Regions from separate parts of the Homo sapiens genome. Here all the other regions are linked to region 6. The links are contacts of gene promoters, found by promoter capture Hi-C in blood cells and fetal thymus (Javierre and others, 2016). All regions are on one chromosome and are shown on one strand. Each heading gives the region's core, a stretch centred on a gene start or on the middle of the fragment in contact. The rest is flanking DNA. Distances are from core to core; before and after follow the strand shown. Region 1 holds the start of WDR13 (WD repeat domain 13). Region 2 overlaps NBDY (negative regulator of P-body association). Region 3 overlaps NBDY (negative regulator of P-body association). Region 4 overlaps SLC35A2 (solute carrier family 35 member A2). Region 5 overlaps OTUD5 (OTU deubiquitinase 5). Region 6 holds the start of KDM5C (lysine demethylase 5C). Region 7 holds the start of TFE3 (transcription factor binding to IGHM enhancer 3).

Evidence for each region. The method cuts DNA at HindIII sites, captures the fragments that hold promoters and counts their contacts. A CHiCAGO score of 5 or more calls a contact.
Region 1: a fragment that was not itself captured here is called in contact with the fragment with the promoter of KDM5C in region 6 in 1 of 17 cell types (naive CD8 T cells); the score reaches 6.7 in naive CD8 T cells.
Region 2: a fragment that was not itself captured here is called in contact with the fragment with the promoter of KDM5C in region 6 in 1 of 17 cell types (fetal thymus); the score reaches 8.3 in fetal thymus.
Region 3: a fragment that was not itself captured here is called in contact with the fragment with the promoter of KDM5C in region 6 in 1 of 17 cell types (fetal thymus); the score reaches 6.2 in fetal thymus.
Region 4: a fragment that was not itself captured here is called in contact with the fragment with the promoter of KDM5C in region 6 in 1 of 17 cell types (neutrophils); the score reaches 6.2 in neutrophils.
Region 5: a fragment that was not itself captured here is called in contact with the fragment with the promoter of KDM5C in region 6 in 1 of 17 cell types (neutrophils); the score reaches 6.2 in neutrophils.
Region 7: the fragment with the promoter of TFE3 here is called in contact with the fragment with the promoter of KDM5C in region 6 in 1 of 17 cell types (neutrophils); the score reaches 6.1 in neutrophils.

Annotation. Positions count from the first base shown.
Region 1 is chrX:48,594,943-48,597,712 of GRCh38, reverse strand. WDR13 (WD repeat domain 13) reads right to left here and starts at 221. Exons shown (of 10, transcript NM_001347217.2): 1 at 99-221. The HindIII fragment of the contact is 260 bases long and covers 1,359-1,618 here.
Region 2 is chrX:56,764,243-56,767,004 of GRCh38, reverse strand. The region is part of intron 2 of NBDY (negative regulator of P-body association); the gene reads right to left. Among named protein-coding and RNA genes, the nearest start is that of NBDY, 36 kb to the right of the region's middle. RefSeq lists enhancers at 2,389-2,748, 2,744-2,762. The HindIII fragment of the contact is 519 bases long and covers 1,030-1,548 here.
Region 3 is chrX:56,802,300-56,804,999 of GRCh38, reverse strand. All of the region lies in intron 2 of NBDY (negative regulator of P-body association), which reads right to left. Among named protein-coding and RNA genes, the nearest start is that of NBDY, 74 kb to the right of the region's middle. RefSeq lists an enhancer at 1,418-1,557. The HindIII fragment of the contact is 1,215 bases long and covers 777-1,991 here.
Region 4 is chrX:48,903,472-48,906,250 of GRCh38, reverse strand. SLC35A2 (solute carrier family 35 member A2) reads left to right here. Exons shown (of 5, transcript NM_005660.3): 4 at 769-1,505. Among named protein-coding and RNA genes, the nearest start is that of SLC35A2, 6.8 kb to the left of the region's middle. The HindIII fragment of the contact is 2,327 bases long and covers 114-2,440 here.
Region 5 is chrX:48,948,253-48,950,952 of GRCh38, reverse strand. The region is part of intron 1 of OTUD5 (OTU deubiquitinase 5); the gene reads left to right. Among named protein-coding and RNA genes, the nearest start is that of OTUD5, 8.0 kb to the left of the region's middle. The HindIII fragment of the contact is 6,417 bases long and covers 1-2,700 here.
Region 6 is chrX:53,223,912-53,226,611 of GRCh38, reverse strand. It overlaps KDM5C (lysine demethylase 5C), which reads left to right and starts at 1,405. Exons shown (of 26, transcript NM_004187.5): 1 at 1,405-1,872. The coding sequence starts at 1,723. It also overlaps a transcript of IQSEC2 not described here. RefSeq lists enhancers at 1,084-1,133, 1,011-1,305, 1,144-1,523, 1,764-1,863. The HindIII fragment of the contact is 15,929 bases long and covers 1-2,700 here.
Region 7 is chrX:49,041,917-49,044,616 of GRCh38, reverse strand. TFE3 (transcription factor binding to IGHM enhancer 3) reads left to right here and starts at 1,260. Exons shown (of 10, transcript NM_006521.6): 1 at 1,260-1,506. The coding sequence starts at 1,391. RefSeq lists a silencer at 1,290-1,529 and an enhancer at 1,071-1,934. The HindIII fragment of the contact is 3,845 bases long and covers 751-2,700 here.

The sequences.
Region 1 (2,770 bases), core at 239-2,738, 4.6 Mb after region 6:
CTAGCATTCCTTGCTTGACATTCTCCACCCATCTTGTCCCCGCCGCCCTCCGCCTTCCCTTCTCAGATCCAAGAGCATAGCCCGGGATCGGGGACCACCTCCGGGGCTGCCTCCGGTTCTTGAGGCCCCCCGGAGCGGCCCTGAGACCACTGTCGCCGGTTCCTTCTGTCTCTCCTCCCTTTCTCAGGCTCCAGGCAAGATGGCTGCCTGCTATCAGAAAGAACTGCCGAGCCCAGAGCGAATCGATAGGCATCCTTCCCAGGGCGTGGGAGTCTCGCAGGCGCATTGAGGGACATTGGCTTCAAGCCCAAGGACGGAGGCTCCACCCCTTGACTTCTACCCACTCGTTAATTGCACTTTTTGTGTATACAAGGATAATGTCCAAGGGACATAGCGTCAGGGGTGAGTTTGCTAATCATTCCCTAGAAATCAGAAGTACAACATTATAAAAAAGAGAAGAAACACGACTTTTAAAAAGTGGTGTAGGGCCGGGCGCGGTGGCTCACGCCTGTAATCCCAGCACTTAGGGAGGCCGAGGCAGGTGGATCACTTGAGGCCAGGAGTTCAAGACCAGCCTGGCCAACATGGTGAAACCCCGTCTCTACTAAAAATACAAAAATTAGCCGGGTATGGTGGCGGGCGCTTGTAGTCCCAGCTACTCGGGAGGTTGTGGCAGGAGGATTGCTTGAGCCCAGGACGCGGAGGTTGTAGTGAGCTGAGATCGCGCCACTGCACTCTAGCCTGGGCGACGGGAGTGAAACCCTGTCTCAAAAACAAAAACAAAAAAAGTGGTGTAGGCCACTTTTTAGCAGCACAATCTTGTCCAAGCAAAACTTGAATAATAGAATAAAAAATCATCATATATGCAAAGACGCCTTGAAAGTTCACCAGTTCTTGCAGTGGGCCTCTGCACACCCCTGGGATGAGTAAGGTCGGTTGTGTGTGTGTGACTGGGATGGTTGGACTTGGATGCCCCCAGACAGCTTGAGGCTTGAGTTTCTTTCTTTTTTTTTTTTTTTTTTCTTTTTGAGACGGGAGTCTCGCTCTGTCGCCCAGGCTGGAGTCCAGTGGCGCGATCTCGGCTCATTGCAAGCTCCGCCTCCTGGGTTCACGCCATTCTCCTGCCTCAGCCTCCCAAGTAGCTGGGACTACAGGCGTCCGACACCACGCCTGGCTAAATTTTTGTGTTTTTAGTAGAGAGGGGGTTTCACCGTGTTAACCAAGATGGTCTCAATCTCCTGACCTCATGATCCGCCCGCCTCGGCCTCCCAAAGTGCTGGGATTACAGGCGTGAGCCACCGAGCCCAGTCGAGGCTTGAGTTTCTAAAGACAGAAGATAGAATTAGGCAAAAGAAGCTTTGGGGTTTGGATCCAAAGAGGCTATCTGAATCATCTCTATTTCAACTTCCAGCAGGAAGCTGCTTTCAAACTGTTCATCTTAACGTTATCAGGGTAAACTTCCTGTTGGATCTTAACATCAACTGACATAAAATTCAAAGCTGTTATTTTCCACATTATTTTTATAACAAATACAATCAATTCAACAATGTTTTAAAGTCACCGAAAGATCACACTGTATTGTGTTGACTCAGCATCTCCCTTGTCCCTGTAACAAGCTTATCAGTGTCTTTTCATATTAAATACTCTTTTGTAACATGATTGATAAAGAGTAAACTCTATTTCACTGCACAAACATGTAACCTTAACAAGAACAACTAATATTTATGAGACAATGTGCTGGGTACTGTTCAAGGTATTTTATACATATATTAATCTATTTAATCTTTTTTTTTTTTTTGAGATGGGGTTTCACTCTGTCACCCAGGCTGGAGTGCAGTGACACGATCTTGGCTCACTGCAATCTCTGCCACCTGGGCTCAAGCAGTCCTCCTACCTCAGCCTCCCGGGAGCTGGGACCACAGACATTTGCCACCACGCCCGGATAATTTTTCTATTTTTGGTAGAGACGGGGTTTCACCATGTTGGCCAGGCTGGTCTCAAACTCCTGAGCTCAAGTGATTCGCCCGCCTCGGCCTCCCTAAGTGCTAGGATTACAGGCGTGAGCCACTGTACCCAGTCAATTTAATCATAATAACTGAAGGTTGTGGGTCCTGTTACTATCCCCATTTTACAGATGAGGATATCTGAAGCCCAGGGAATTCAAGGGTGACATTTTATTGAACTGGTTCCCTTACGTTTTTTTTTTTTTTTTTTTTTTTAAGACATGGTGTCAACTGGGCGTAGTGGCTTATGTCTGTAATCCCAGCACTTTGGAAGGCTGAGGCGGGAGGATCACTTGAGTCCAGGAAGTTGAGACCAGCCTGGGGAACAAAGTGAGACCCCATCTCTACCAAAAATTAGGCATGGTGGTACATCCCTGTAGTCCCAGCTACTCGGGAGGCTGAGGCAGAAGAATTGCTTGAGCCTGGGAGGTTAAGGCTGCAGTGAGCTGTGATCATGCCACTACACTCCAACCTGGGCAACAGAGCGAGACCCTGTCTCTTAAAAAAAAAAAAAGAGGTCGGATGTGGTGGCTCACACCTGTAATCCCAGCACTTTGGGAGGCTGAGGCGGGCAGATCACCTGAGGTTAGGAATTCGAGACCAGCCTGGGCAACATGGTGAAACTCTGTCTCTACTAAAAATACAAAAAATTAGCCGGGCATGGTGGCAGGAGCCTGTAATCCCAGCTACTTGGGAGACTGAGGCAAGGACAATCACTTGAACCCTGGAGGCGGAGGTTGCAGTGAGCTGAGATCGTGCCATTGCAC
Region 2 (2,762 bases), core at 40-2,539, 3.5 Mb before region 6:
GGAGGTCCGAAGAACGGATAGACAGCTCAACAGGCAGCCACAGGGCCTGAGGCAGGAGTCTCCCTCAGCGGGGACATTCAGCAACTCACTCAAGACTGACTCTGCTCAGGCTGTCTCGGCTTTCACAGAGGTAGGGTTGGGAGGAGGGTGGCTCAGAGAGGCTGGGGAAGGCCACCAAGTACCACAGCTTCTCATGGCATCACACAGGGACAAGGCTTGGGGGCCCTTTTTAAGCAGCTTGACCCAGGATGCTCCAGTTTCATGCCTGCTGCTTGAGCCTATCTGATAACAGACTTCCCGAATTCATTCTCAGGAGAAGGCCCTAGTTGCCCAATAAATGGCATAATGACTCAGGCCTGGAGGCAGGAATGCTCCTCTGTCTCCCTTTCCCCTTTGCATATTTCGAACCCCTGTCGAAGAGAATGTGGGCAGTCGCATGCCTGTGGCGATGTGTGTTTGTGTCCCATAATGCTTGGGCCCCTACCCCTTTGATTTTGTGAGCTTACTTTATGTGTGTGTATGTGTGTGTTTGTGTGGGTATGTGTAAGCGTGTTTTTGTCTGGGTGTGCATGTATCTCTGTGTGTGTGTTTGTGATTTTATTTCTTCTTCTGGGGGTCTCTTGTAAGTGCCTGCATGTGTGTCTGTGTGTGCCTCCCTGTGTGAGTGAGAGTGGGCAAATGAACACGTGGCAGAGACACCCTGCCTGCACACACTGAAATGTGAGCAAATGAACACGTGGCAGAGACACCCTGCCTGCACACACTGAAATTCAGATTGATGTGTTCACATGGCTTGACTGGAAAAAAAGGAGTTAGGAAACAACTTGCCAAGGCTCCTACTGGCTCAGGATTACACTTACAGCATCCAGAAGGAGAATGGGAAATAACAATGAGCCATGAGGTATTGGGTAAAGGGTGCGTTCACCATGACATTTCACTTAAAAGTAACACGTGGGTAGCCTTTTGGTGGACCAGAGGGACTAAACTCATGACCTTCATCTGTGCTCCTTAAAGAACGAATGTGAAGCTTTCTCCAGGCCTAATTCTGCAGAGGGACATCCCACATCACCAAGGAGCAAAAGAAGAAGCAGTCTGCTAGAACACGTGCCCACCCAGATCCGCAAGTGAAAGGAAAAACAGAAGCAGAATCAGAAGCAGAAGCAAAAGCAAAAAAAGAAAAAGAGGCAAAGGAGAAGGAAGTGCAGGGGGAGGGGGAGGAGGAGTAGAAGGAGGAAAAAGAAGAAAAAGAAAAAGGAGGAGTAGGAAGATAAGAAGGAGTTGGAGGAGGAGGAGCAAGAGGAGAAGGAGGAGAAGGAGAAGAATTAAAGAAGAGGGGTAGGAGGAGGAAGAGGAAGAAGAATCAGAAGGAGAACAGGAAGTGAGAGGTCCATGCCACTGTAGCTGTCCCGAAGGATCTAGTTTAGGAGGGCCTCAACGCGTGGTGACATACAACGAGGGGCACGGAGCCACTTCTGACATCCGGCTTAAAGGACACACAACCAGGAAGCGTCTTGTTGATGGGGTATTTCCTGAGTAAGATCAAAAGCTTTGATCCACAAGTAGGCCTGCAGAAGCTACAGAGAACACAGGTGCTGGCTGAACCTTGCCCTGAAGATGTCATCAGCTGACTGCAAGGGGCTACCAAGCCCCAAGGCTACAAGGCCAAGGCAGGGAAGGACCGCCCAAAAAAGAATAAGATGAAAAACGGGGAGGAATTGGACACCAGGGAAAAGAGATAATCAGCCACCCACTGCAATATGGAGACAGGGCAGAAAGGAGAGGGAAACGCCAATTTCTCCTCGCAGGGGTCAGCTAGAGTCCTACTAATTTCCTTAGGAAAAGTAAGCCTGTTTTCCCTAACGGTGTCCCCGCGCCCAGCTGACCCTGCCTTCCAGTCTGCTCCTGGAGCAGAAGTGGAGAAAAAGTAAAGAGAATGAAGAAGAAAAAAGTGAAGGGAGAAAAACTCCAAAAGTACACAAAGAATCAGTGAGCAATGAGATTGACAGCGAACTGCAATGCAAAGTGCCTCAGATGGACAGCTGGCAGCACTATGAGTGGCCTCTTGTGGCCTCACAGAGGAAGAGCCACCAGCCAGGAGAAAGCATCAGCCCCTCAAGCCCGGGTCTGCACCGCGTGGGCACAGAGGCCTGTTGGGCCAGGAAGCTGCCCTGCTCCCTGTGGCCCCCACCCCTACCCCATCCTACTGTTGCCGGTTCCCCCAAAGTGACCACATAGATGGGAAGCCCTGCTGTAGGTGAGATGGGTGCTCCTAGGCCAGTTTCTTTTTTTTTTTTTTTTTTTTGGTGTTTGTTTTGGTTTTTGGCACCAAAAACAGAAAGAGGGAAAGAAAATGGGGGAAGGGAAAGACAAGACTGCTGTTTGTGGAGCCACATTGCCATCTAGTGGAAGTTGTTTCTGAACACAACAGGATGCACGGACACCTGCCTTCTGCCAGGAACAGAGATCAGCGAGGATGTGCTTAGACTATGTCTAAGCCTGGGTTTCCCCCACCGGGGTTCTGAGCCCTTGAAGGAAGTGTACCTGGCATTGGGACGCTTTGGAGAAGCAACTACTCTAGAGGCCCCAGGACAGAACAGCCAGGCAGCCCCAAGACCAGTCAGCCCAGAGGGCGGAGCTGGCCCGGCAGCCATGTTGAGATGGACATAAACGAAGCCACTGGCCGAGACGGGGGCCGTTTACTCTGGTGTCTTTTGTGGGGAGTTCCGGGGTTCCCTTGGCTGGAGCCACGTGTTGGCAAGGGG
Region 3 (2,700 bases), core at 135-2,634, 3.6 Mb before region 6:
GCTCTGCACGTTCCCAGTGCAGCCTACACATCCAGGAAGACTTGTAACAAGCGAAGAAAGAAAACATTTGCAATATTCTGAGATGGTTGTGTTCCATGCTGCTCTCCAGTCACTGAGAGGCATGGGTAAGACATGCAACCTTTAGAGCAATGAGGCCACAGCTTTGCATCTCAACAAGTGTTCTGTATGAAGGACCCATGCATGGCTTTCCCATTTCTGCCTGGAGACCCAAAAGGGGTGGCACAATTTGTCCTCCACTGTCTCATCCATTTTCCAGGCTGAATAATCTGACAAGCAATAGAATTCAGCTTGAGGAGCCCAGAGTGCTCGGTATCAAACCAAGGAACAGCCACCTCACCATCTGCAAAGACACGCCAGCCTCAACCTTCACTTCCATGCCCAGCACAGGAACACAGAGGAGGCCCAGGCGAAAGTGAGCATGGCTGGGGCCTGGCTACCCATGTATTTGGCAGAATGACTAAGATGCCCGGGGAATTAACTGGTGAGCCATCACATTCAGTGAGCACACATGCTCCATCAGCTATGCCAAGTGGCTTTCTCTAGGAGAGCCGCCTGTGGAAGCCACCCAGAATACCCCTCCTACTCTTGGGCATGGATGAGTGCCTGGGCTCCAGTGAGAAAAGTAGCTGAAGGCCTGGGACAGGTGTCCAATCTGTCGAGTCTCATCCTGACAGACACCTGGCCCGACCTTCTTCTGCTAGAAGGGTCAACAATCTATGGATGCCTGTTGGACCTGGGTGCTTTTGATCCAAGCTTTTGTCCCTTCCCCAAGAAACAGTGTGTTCCCTATTTACAAGCGTAGTGCTCACAAGCAGGCAGCCTGGTCTCCTTAGGAGGCTTGTGCAAATTCAGAGAAGTAATCAGCAGTGGCCTACAAGCAGGCCCATGCACTCACACACCCCTCCCCCATACCCCTTCACATTGCCCCCAGTGCGACCTATCCCCACCATGCCACAGCCCCAAGGGTGGGATTTCTTGAGGATAGGCTCCTCTGGCTCACTGGGACCCCTGCCCAGAGAGGAATCCAGAGGGAAGGAGGGAGGCAGAGAGCCTTTCGCATGTTGCAGGTTTCCCCAAAGAGACCATGTAGGTGGGGAGTCCTGCTGTAGATGAGGTGAGCGCTCCTTGGCCGGTTTCTTTCTTTCTTTCTTTTCTTTTTGTTTTGTTTTGTTTTGTTGGAAGCAAAAGGAGAAAGAGAAAAGCAAGGGAAATAAGTGACTGCCATTTCTGGAGCCACACTGCCATCCAGCGGCAGTTGTTTCTGAACACGACCGGCTGCAGGGATACTTGCCTTCTGACAGGCACAGACTTCAGCGAGAATATGTCGGGCTGGGTGGACTCTGACTAAGCCAGAGTTTCCCCCATCGCGGTTTTAAACCTTTGAAGGAAGTGTGCCTGCCATTTGGACCCCACGGAGAAGCAGCTAATCTAGAGGCCCAGGGACAGAGCAGCCAGGCAGCCCCAAGACCAGTCAGTCCAGAGTGCGGAGGTGCCCTGGCAGCCATCTTGAGGTGGGCTTAAGGGAAGCCACTGACTACTGACGGCCGAGACTGGGGTCGTTTACACTGGTCTCTTTTGTGGGGAGTTCTGGGGTGCCCTTGCCTGGAATCACGCTGGGGCCAGAGGTCCCCTATCCTCCCAGTGAACCAAGGAGCTGTGGGGTGCTGTGGGCGGGACGACTCCTGCCCGGCAATTCCTGGAGATGGCCAGGGGAACCCATGGAGGGCCGCCCCTTCCTGCCCTTTTTTCGGAGAGGGCTGTGGAGCCCGGGTGCCATCCTGGTAATGAGCAAGGGCAAAGGGCCAGCCAGGAGTTCCTCTCTCGTCCAGCTTCAGCCTGGGGGCCCCACACCGCCACCATCTCTTTCGTGCTCCTGGGATTTCTCCAGCACTCATGCCCAGCTGCCTCCAGTTTCCAGAAACAGATTCCGCTCGATGGCACTATGGCTCTACAAAGGCCAACTACAAGCTTAACCCTGCCCCTCCAATCCGACGGCCTCCACCCTTTCCAATGTGAAAAAAAGAAAAGGGAAAGAGAAACAAAAAAAAGACAGGGAGGATAAAAAGGAGCCAGCCACCTGGTCTCAGGTTGACCACCAAACTTAAGGGACCCTACGACCTAGGACCAGTAGGCAGGAGACACTGCGGAAATCCTCTTTATGCCGCCAGCCTTTGCTTTTCCTTTGGCCCTCTCCAGGTTTCATGGCTCATGCTCATGCAGAAAAATAGAAGACAAATGATACATAATCATGGCCACTGGGAAACCACAGGAAGACTGGGATCATGGGGCTGCCGCCCCAGGACAAGGTGCTGGTCACCCAGCTGAATTACCCAAGGTTTTGCTGCAGGACTGGTGGTTCTCCCAAAGCCTGGAGCTCCAGATAGAGTTTACCACCTTGGGCTGGCACATGGAGGTCACCAAAATGAGCGAACAGCTCAACAGGCAGTCACAGGGCGTGTGGCAGGAATCTCCCTCAGAGGGGATACTCAGCAACTGACTGAAGTCTGACTCTGTGCAGGCTGTCCTGGCTTTCACATGGGGTGGGGGGGAGGGGTGACATGAGGGTGGCTTAGGGGAACTGGGGAAGGCCACCACGCAACACAGATTCCCATGGCATCACAGAGGGCCAAGGGTCCCAAGGGGACTGTCTGCCTCTACCCAAGGTGTGGTCCCTTTTTA
Region 4 (2,779 bases), core at 28-2,527, 4.3 Mb after region 6:
TTTCTCGTCTGTGAAAATTGGGGGTGGAAATAGTAATGCCTGTTCACTGAGATGCTAGGATACTTAAAAGAAATAATACCTGTGAAGAGCCCTTGATTGGTGACAGATAAGCTTTAGGCTATTTGTGGGCAGCTTTGTGAAATGGTTAAAGAGCCTGGATTCTGGGGCCAGGCTGTCTGGGTTCAAATCTCAGCTCTGCTACCTTCCAGCTGTGTGATTTTGGGGCACGTCACCTAACCTCTCTGTGCCTTAGTTTTCTCACCTTTAAATTGGGGCTTACAGTGGTGCTCACTTCAGAATGGTGTTGTGAGAATTAAATGAATGAATTCACGTGCAGTGCCTAGAACCACACTGATATATTGTAAGCACTATGTAAGTATTTGCTGACATTGTTGTGGCTATTGATTCATTTGTATCAAGTCCCTCATCACAAAGATACTTCCATACCTCAGCCATCTTTTATAGATGATGATGCCAGGGCTCAGACAGGGCAAGTGCTTTGTCCCCAGTCACACAGCCAGGAAATGGGATTGGGATGTGGACTTCTTGGCACAGCCATCCTTTTGTGCACTTGCTGGGAGAGACTTCAGAACTGTTTTGCTGCAGCTCAGCCAATGGCCAGTGGCTGGCTCCTTTTGCTGTTTTTGCTGTCATACCCCCCACCCTGTCCCTCCATTGTGCCTGGGGGCCCACAGTGGGTGCTGCCCCCCATGTGCACCTGTTGGGGGCCAGGGTCAGCCCTCAGTGCCTTCCACGTGCCACTCGCAGGTGACATACCAGCTGAAGATCCTGACCACAGCGCTGTTCTCCGTGCTCATGCTGAATCGCAGCCTTTCCCGGCTGCAGTGGGCCTCCCTGCTGCTCCTCTTCACTGGCGTCGCCATTGTCCAGGCACAGCAAGCCGGTGGGGGAGGCCCACGGCCACTGGATCAGAACCCTGGGGCAGGCCTGGCAGCCGTCGTGGCCTCCTGTCTCTCCTCCGGCTTCGCAGGTGTCTACTTTGAGAAGATCCTCAAAGGCAGCTCAGGCTCCGTGTGGCTGCGCAACCTGCAACTGGGCCTCTTCGGCACAGCACTGGGCCTGGTGGGGCTCTGGTGGGCTGAGGGTACCGCCGTGGCCACCCGTGGTTTCTTTTTTGGGTACACACCTGCTGTCTGGGGCGTGGTGCTCAACCAGGCCTTCGGCGGGCTACTGGTGGCTGTGGTTGTCAAGTACGCTGACAATATCCTCAAGGGCTTTGCCACCTCCCTGTCCATTGTGCTGTCCACTGTTGCCTCCATTCGCCTCTTTGGCTTCCACGTGGACCCATTATTTGCCCTTGGCGCTGGACTCGTCATTGGTGCTGTCTACCTCTACAGCCTTCCCCGAGGTGCAGCCAAAGCCATAGCCTCTGCCTCTGCCTCCGCCTCCGGGCCCTGCGTTCACCAGCAGCCTCCCGGGCAGCCACCACCACCGCAGCTGTCTTCCCACCGTGGAGACCTCATCACGGAGCCCTTTCTGCCAAAGTCAGTGCTGGTGAAGTGAGGGCTGGCAGCAATGGGGGGACACAAGGGAGGGGGACTGGGGTGGAGGGTGTTGGGCATCTGCAGGACCCAAGTCGCCACCCTCCGGGGCCTGGCTCCTCTGGGTTTGGGAGATGGTCTTTTCTCCCAGGTCACTGAGACTTCTGGAGGGGTGTGGGACTAGAGCTGGGTGTCACGTGAACCCTTCCTGGTAGGGTGACCCCCTTCCCCTGGAGGGGGTTTTAGAGCTGCCGCCTCTGCTCCCTCTAACCTCTTTGGAGGCAGGGTTGGGGGTATTGTCATTCAAGGCCTTTTTTTTGTCTGCTCCCTCCCCGACCCTGTGCCCTCTTCTGGAGGTTTCTCGTCTGGGAGAGTCCCTCCCAGCAGTCCCTCCACCTCCATAAGGACACACTGGACAAAACTCCCGCAGCTCTTCAGGAATGACCGATGCCTACCTGTGGGGTTCAGTTGCCCATAGTTTGAGGCCTTCTCTCCTCCCTTACCACCGCTCTGGATCATGTTACTAGTTCCGTCTTTTGTGTGGCCTTGGGCCAGCTTCCTTGATACCTTGAAGATGGGCTTCTTGTGAGTCCCCAGGGAGAAAGGGACAAGAGCTAAGATTTTTGCATCAGCCCTTCTGGCAGAAGGTGTGGTAGGGGCCATTTGTTTTTTTTAGTGGACTTGGGATTTGTGGTGTAATCATATCATTAATGATCCAGGGTGTGGGAAAAATGGAGGTCCTTGAAGTGGCTGAATCTCATTGTATTTAAGACACTGTCAGTTGCCAGATGTAGGCTTATTTTTGGAGATGTCTAGGAGAGGAAAAAGCTACCAATCATACTCTTGATATCCGTCTGGCTGTGTGAGGCACCCCTACCTCATGGGGGTGTCTTGGGATTGATGAACTGTGGAACCTGCCTCCTGCGCTCCCCAAAGCTTATTAACCCCTTAACTGTATCGGGGCGGGGTGTGTGTGTGCATGGAAGATGCCTGGGCTGTCTTTGCTATATGTAAATAGAGCCATTGGATCTTTATTTTTGATTAATTTGTTCTGATTTTTTGGTTTGTTTTTTAAGGAACTGTAATGAACAAATGTCAGGATATCCAATGCCAAATAAAGATGTTGTATTTATTTAGTCCACGTGTAGCTTTCTGACCAGGTGGGCACCATTACTAACCCCAGGACTACCAGCCTCACCACCGCCGCCCTCACTTGCTCAGGAAACCCGCCTGCCAGCCTAGCCCAGCTTTGTGTTTTTCTTTCCTCCCCATTCCCA
Region 5 (2,700 bases), core at 172-2,671, 4.3 Mb after region 6:
CAAGGAGTGCTACCAAGGGGGGTGTGTTAGTTTCCTGTGGCTGTTGTGACAAATGTTACCACAGACTGGGTGGTTTAAAACAACAGAAGTTGGCCGGGTGCGGTGGCTCACCCCTGTAATCCCAGCACTTTGGGAGGCCGAGGCGGGTGGATCACGAGGTCAGGAGTTCAAGACCAGCCTGGCCAAGATAGTAAAACCCCATCTCTACTAAAAATATAAAAATTAGCTGGGTGTGGTGGTGGGTGCCTGTAATCCCAGCTACTCGGGAGGCTGAGGCAGAGAATTGCTTGAACCCAGGAGACGGATTGGAGGTTGCAGTGAGGTGGGGGTTGCAGTAAGCTGAGATTGCGCCACTGCACTCCAGCCTGGGTGACAGAGCGAGACTCCATCTCAAAAAAAAAAAAAAAAAAAAAAAGAGAGAGAGAAGTTTATTCTGTCACAATTCTGGAGGCCAGAAGTCCACAATCAGTTTCACTGCATCCAAATCAAAGTGTTGGCAGGGCCACACTCCTTCTGGAAGCTCTCAGGGAGAATTTAGACCTTCTCTAGCCTCTCGTGGCTGCCAACATTCCTTGGTTTATGACTGCATCATTCTAATCTCTGCCTCCATCTTCACCATCGCCTTCTCTGTATATGTGGTTTCCTTTTCTGTCTGTATCAAATTTCCCTCTGTCTCTCTTTTATAAGGACACTTGTGATTGCATTTAGGTCCTACCTGATACTCTAAGATAACCCCCCATCTCCAGATTTAATAATGTAAGTTAATTACATCTGCAAACACTTTTTTTCTTTTCTCTTCTCTTTTTTTTTTTTTTTTTGAGGTGGAATCTCACTCTGTCACCCAGGCGCAGTCTCGGCTCACCGCAACCTCCGCCTCCTGGGTTCAAGCTATTCTCCTGCCTCACCCTCCTGAGTAGCTGGGATTGCAGGCGCCCACCACCACACCTGGCTAATTTTTGTATTTTTAGTAGAGATGGGGTTTTGCCATGTTGGCCAGGCTGGTTTCAAACTCCTGACCTTAGTTGATCCACCCGCCTCGGCCTCCCAAAGTGCTGGGATTACAGGCATGAGCCACTGTGCCCGGGCTTTTCTTTTCTTTTCAGACAGTGCTGGCCTCTGTCACCCAGGCTGGAGTGCAGTGGCGTAATCTTGGCTCACTGCACCCTCCACTTCCTGGACTCAAGTGATCCTCCAGCCTCAGCCTCCTGAGTAGCTGGGACCACAGGTGCGAGCCACCATGCCCGGTTAATTTTTGGTGTTTATTTATTTGTTTTTGAGATGGAGTCTCGCTGTGTCACCCAGGCTGGAGTGCAGTGGTGCTATCTCGGCTCACTGCAACCTTCGCCTCCCAGGTTCCAGCGATTCTCCTGCCTCAGCCTCCTGAGTAGTTGGGATTACAGGCGCCTGCTACCATGACCAGCTAATTTTTGTATTTTTAGTAGAGATAGGGTTTCACCATGTTGGCCAGGCTGGTCTCGAACTCCTGACCTCAGGTGATCCACCCGCCTCGGCCTCCCAGAGTGCCGCGATTACAGGCGTGAATCACCGTACCTGGCCTGTATTTTTTGTAGAGATGAGATTTCACCATGTTGCCCAGGCTAGTCTTGAACTCTTGAGCTCAAAGCGATCTGCCTGCCTTAGCCTCCCAAAGTGCTGGGATTGCAGGCATGAGCCACGACGCCTGGCCCTACCTTTTTCATTATAAGGTAACATTTACAAGTTCCAGGGGGGTTAGGGTTTGATATCTTTGCGTGGCTATTAATCAGCCTACTAGAGAGGCTTTTTTCCCTCCTGGGGAAGGGAAGGGAACTCATTAAGTGGTCTCTTACTGGGCAAAGCCCTGTAATATTTGAGTCTGCCCAGCATCCCTATTATTGGGAGGCTTGGTATCCCCATTCACAGATTGGAAAACTGTGGCTCAGAGCAGTTCATCATCACATGGCTAATAATTGGTGGAGCTAGATTGGAACCTAAGTCAGTTGGGTTCCACAGCCTGCTCCAACTTCACTTGGGCCCTTAGACCACTAGGTTACAGAATCTTGCCTCAGCTCCTGGGATCCTCTGGTGTTAGGGAGCTTTACTCAGCCTTTTTGTGGAGGCTCAAAGATATGGAGGGATTTTCCCATAGGCTCAGCGATGAGTTTGCAAGGTTCACAATCTCCTCAGGCCAGGGCATTGTTGGAGCTTAAACTTATCTATGGCTGAGCTATCCCCTACCCCCCACCCCTACTAGCCCTTCCTGAGCAACATTTTCTCCCCAAAAGGAGAAAGAGAAGGGCCAGAGCCCAAACTCCTCAGGCTGCTGATGACAAAGCCAGTGGGTGGCTAGCAGTCCAGCCTCTAGATCCAAGCCTGGATGCCAGTTTGACTGCCCCAGGACCCAAACCCTGCAGTGCGAGGGGCCTATTCAGGTCTCTTTCATGTTTAGAGACAAACCAGGATATTCTGTGGATGGGCTGCAAGGTATGTCCTCCATGCTGTGGCTCGTGGGGGCCTTCCCTGTTGCCTCTACACTAGGCTTTGCTGGTATCCAAACTCCAGCTCCTTTCTCTTTCTGCCTTTGTTTTTTTGTTTTTTGTTTTGTTTTTGTTTTTGTTTTTGAGACATAGTCTTGCTCTGTTGCCCAGGCTGGCTGGGGTGCAATGGTGCCATCTCGGCTCACTGCAACCTCCACCTCCCGAGTTCAAGCGATTCTCCTGT
Region 6 (2,700 bases), core at 156-2,655:
ACTCCCTATCTGCCTCGAGCTTACAGTGGATGTTTAATATGTTAAACAGGAAATGTTTGCAAAAAGTATTCATATTTTTCAGTCAATATATACTAAGGACATTTATTCATTTTTCTTTTGTTTACTCAACATTCATTTACTGCTTAACATGCCAAGTGCTAAGGATGTATAAGGCCACATGGTCCCTGCCCTTAAGGAATTCATAGTCTGATGGGGGAAAACAAAATTACTTAATCAGCATGTACGCAAGTACTCAAATATTTGCACAGTAGGTGTTCAAACTATATGCAGTAGGTCCACAGCTGATGAATGACACAGATGATCCTCCAATCAGTAGATGCCTGATGTATATGTACAAAGTACTGGTTTGATGATACTCATTCAAAGTACTGTAGTTGCAATGAACCTATTCAGAAACTGCTCAAGGAACATGCACACGATAGGACTAAATGTACATACAGTTGGTACCAAATGCACAGGGGCTATACACAATAAATACAATAAAAGTACACGGATGTTTGGTAAGTGCACTGTAGGCTCACAAATGGGCAAACAGGTGTTTTACACAGTTGACACTGGATAAATACGCCGTTGCTAAACATCCAATAGTTAAAGTATACATACACACAGGCTTATTTTGTAGGAGTATATGCCACAAATGTGTACATGGTAAAAGTGAATACAGAACAGTTGAAAGCGTTCATTAAAATGCTGACTCCCAGTGACTTTTGGGGGGTAAGAATCGAAACCCCATCTCTCTACCTGTAACCTTGGATGAAATAAAGATTTCCTTCCTTTACTTGGGACTCAGAATCCTAAAAATCCATAATCCCCGGGGAGTGAGCAGCTTCCTGCCTTCCTTATTTCAAAGCCCCAGAGGTGTCAGTGTCTAGAGCTGGAGCCTAGTACATCTCCCCCCATCCCGCGGGCCAGCATAAGGGGTCCTTTGCAATCAGGCTCCCAGAGCCGCCTTCCGCGGCCCATACCGTTAAGACCAGGGAGAAGGGACAGAGAACACTGGTGCGGGGCTAGCGACCTGGTTGAGGTCTGCGGGGGAGTGCCGGTTTGACTCCACCACCCACGGACACCAGCTCCTCTTCCGGTCTCCATAACGCGCATGCGCATCACTGGCCTTTAAACGTGCACCGCCGGTCCATCCGGAAAGACGATCCGGCAAACTAATTACAATCTTGTTCCTCCGCCGTTGCAATGAACTATTTTCTCTCAGTCCGGGGTGGTACTTTTGAGTAACCCCTTCCAAATAGAAACCCATACCAGCCTATTTAGCTCGGTCTCCACTATATGAAGGTTTCCTAGGGCTTGGTGTGACGCAACGTATACGAGGCTCGGAAGGACACCCCGCGGAAGGATCCGGTTTGTTGTGGTGTGGGGAGGGGAGACGCTGACAAACCAAGATGGCGGCGGCGGCGCTGAAGGCCGCGGCGTTTGGGAGGTAACTGTGGTGGCGAAGGCTGCGGTAGTGGGGAGGCAACCACACAGTTTGGAAGAAACGGAGCGGGACGAAGAGGCGGTAGCAGTAGAGTCAGCCTGAGACTCTCAGAGCACGACGGCCACACGCCCCCTTAGGCCCTCGGCGGGCGGCGGCTGCCCCGCTTAGGGCCTAGCCTCCGAGCATTGCCTCGGCTTCAAACAGCGGCGGCGCCATGAGTCCTTAAGGGCGGTCCAAGCCTCCCGATCCCTGGCCCAGACCTCGGGCCCACCATGGAGCCGGGGTCCGACGATTTCCTACCGCCACCGGAGTGCCCGGTGTTCGAGCCTAGCTGGGCCGAGTTCCGAGACCCTCTTGGCTACATCGCGAAAATCAGGCCCATCGCAGAGAAATCGGGCATTTGCAAGATCCGCCCACCCGCGGTAAGCCCCGGGGCCGGTTTTCGCCGGCGGCGAGACGGAATGAAGCAGTAGGATAGCCAGCGGCGAAGTCTGGGGCGGAGGGCAGCTCGAGGTGGGGAGAGGGGGTGGCTGGGACCGTTGTGGTTGCGGCGCGGATCGGAAAAAGGGTGTTGGGCCAGGGGTCCTCTCGTGGTGTGAGGCCCACAGGTGACCTGGAGTCAGAGATCCACCCCCACCCCGGCCCTTCAGAATCACTCCGGGTTTAAGACAGGGATTCCTAGTGGGCCGGAGGGAGTTCACAGAGAGGCACCCCGCACATCTCTTAGCCCGGGCCACCTAGGTCGAGGCTGTAAAAATAAGACGTTTCTCCAATCTGTTGTCATCACTTCCTTTAAGGCAGGCAGCATAGTATAGTATTAATAGAAAGATCGCAGTCCTGAAGGGAGACAGACTTGAGTTCAAAACTCCACTTTGAAGCTGAGCAGCTGTGTGACCTTGGGAAAGTAGAAGTAATCTCTCTGAGCCCGTGAAATGGATCCCAGAAATGGTTATTTAGAGGATTGAATTAAACTAGGTAGCGTCTGTATGTAGTACGCACTAGATAAGTGGTAATTATTGTGACTGTGAGGGTGTTTGATGTGGTCATTGGTTTATTCCTATGTAGGTTGACTCATATTTACTCATACCTTGCCAGGCCAATTCATCTATGATAATATCCTGGCCTGCTGGACCAGTCAGGAAATCAGTCTCACAGGGATTGCTCTGTCTCCCTTGAGGTGGGTTCAGGGAATTGTCCTCTTCTTTTCCTCGTTGAAGGCAATGTCAAGGCCTTTTCTGCACATCATCCCG
Region 7 (2,700 bases), core at 11-2,510, 4.2 Mb after region 6:
GCCAATACAGGAAGGTCCAAGGTAAATGAAAGCCCGGTGAAATTCCTGGAGGCGCAACTCAGGGTGGGGTCTTGGGATGTCAGGAAAGAGGAAGGGAAGGCTGTAGGTCTGGGTGTTTTGTGAGCTATTTGCACCTGAGGATATATGAGTGAGACCCTCCGCCTTGTGCGAGCCGGCTTGCATGCGTCTGGCATACAGAAGCGCTCAGTGAATGTTGAATAAGTGAACAAATGAGTGAATCAACTAATTTTGGGAAGCTTCTTGTATGCCAAACAACCTGCTAGCACTTTTCATACATTATCTTTAATCCTCAGAACAACCCTGCCAGACAGGTATTTTGACCCCCATTTAACAGGCCAGGAAAGCTGAGGCTGGGAGAGGGGAGGTCCCCTTCCCTATTCAAACCTGGATCTTTGTGATTCCAGAAGTCGTCATTCACCGAAGGGACCAGATTCATTCACCCGTCAAGAATTTATTAAGCACATATTGCGCAGCGCAATGAACATAGTACAACCGCTCTCGATGGCATGGAACAGGCGGAATACTCCCGGAAGACCAGCTGGGCGGCTGGACTGCGGACAGCGAAAGGGGGGGGTTTCTGGCCCGCACCTTCAGGGAATGTAGCTGCCTCTGCCTCATAGTTATGGCTTTGGCTGAGAGAGCACAGCCAGATCGAGGTTGGAGCGCGGTCTAGGGCTCAGATATTACAAATATTGGCCGAAAGAGGGCGCGGTTCCGCAGCTAAAAGCTTGGCCAGGAGACCCTCCGTGCGCCGACTGGCCATCGATGCGCAGGCGCAGAGGACCCAAGGAGCGGCTTAATATTACCTTGCAGAGGGATAATTTGAGAAGAGAGGGCGTGGCTCCGAAAGCGACGCAAACATAGAGGCGTGGTTCAACCAAATCAACCCTCGCCTATTTGTCGCTGCCCCTGAGGGCGTGGTCTGGGTGCTGCTTCTCGGAATGAGGGCGGGCCGAATCGCGTTTTTCCTCCGCGTCGGAGGCGTCGCTTAGGGTGGGCCCTCGAATCGCCGTTCAGCGATTGGCCGCCTCGCTAATGGGTCGTGGCCAGACGGGCCATCCATCCCCAGTGCGGTCACTTCCTGTGGAGTTTCCCCATCCCTGGGAGGAGGGAGGAGGGGGAAGAAGACGAGGGGGAGGAGGGCGGTCGTCCGGGGTTAGGTTGAGGGGGGGCGTCGGTCCGTTCTGGGCGGGGGATGACTCACAGCCCATCCCATCTCCCCGACGCCGCCCGCCCGCGCAGTGCTAGCTCCATGGCTTAGCGGAGGAGGCGGCGGTGGCGAGCTGGGGGGAGGGGGGACTCTTATTTTGTTAGGGGGACCGGGCCGAGGCCCGACCGGCCTGGCAGGGCTCGCCCGGGGCCGGGCGTCATGTCTCATGCGGCCGAACCAGCTCGGGATGGCGTAGAGGCCAGCGCGGAGGGCCCTCGAGCCGTGTTCGTGCTGTTGGAGGAGCGCAGGCCGGCCGACTCGGCTCAGCTGCTCAGGTGCGGGGCCGCCTGGGGCTGGGAGTGCCGACTGGGGCTCCCAGGGGCCTGATCTCGGGGGCAGTGGGGGCCCCGGACTGGGATTGGAGGCCCTCGGCCTAGCCTTGGAGGACGTCGGGGCGCCCGTCTTGGGGGGGCACCTAAGGAATCCGGCAGTGGCCTGCTTGGATTGTGGCTTTATTAAAGGAGTCGTGGGAGTGCATTAAGCGGGGTCTGGGTCAGGTTTGGGGAGCCCTTGACTGCGTCTAGAGGGGCCTATTCTGGAGTATCCAGAAACTGGTCTGAGATAGCTGAACTTGGTAGACAGGGTCTCTGATTAGAGGCTGAATTCGGGGATTTTCAGTCGGACATGAGGGGAATGAATTTGAGGGGACACTGTCAGGTGAGGCACTGGTTTTAAGGGAATCCTAGAATCTTTTTTCCCTCAGTGTGGGAGAAGGGGTCCTGAGGGACAGAAGTGCTGTCTTGGGAGCTTGGTGCCTCTCAGTGACTGGTTGCTGTGTTTGGGGATAACATGAATCTGGAGGGATTTGGAGGTATCTCAGATATGCTGCCTGGGACCAGCCTTGTGAGTGCGTGTGAATGAACAAGAGAAGCAACATTCAGCAAGACTTGACCAGAATAATCCTTTCCCCTCTGCCCGCCTACCCAGCTGGGGCAGATCCCAAGGATAGTGGAAAAGCCCTCTTCCCACACCTGTTAAGGGCCTGAATGGAAGATAGACAGCCAGGCAGAGGGCGATGATGTTACCTCTTAGCTCAGAGGCCTCAGACCTTGTTTGGGAACCCAGAGGAGGCTCTTGTTCATGCTGCTACTCGCTCTAGCCTCTCAGCCCTTCCCACTCCCTAGCCCCACACCCCTTTTCTTTTTATCTTCTTTTCGATCTCCGAGCTCCTGGGGGTAATCTTGAATCTGTCCATAGAGCTGGAACGAGTACAGATTGCACCATCCCTGCCTGGGTGGATCCCCTCTGGCCTCTTCTCATCCTTACTTTCATCAATGGGCTTTGGAGCCCCAGCCCTCCCTGCTCACCCCAGTGCCCATCTCTTCCAACTTCTGTGCAATGGGTGTGTGAGCCCTGGGTGGGGGGGGGTCTTTGCCTCCTTTGTGCCTGGGATTGTGCTGAGCTCAGTGGCTCGCCCGAGCTTCCTCTTCCCAACTTCCTGGGTGGTTTTAGGGCTCCATCTGAGGGTG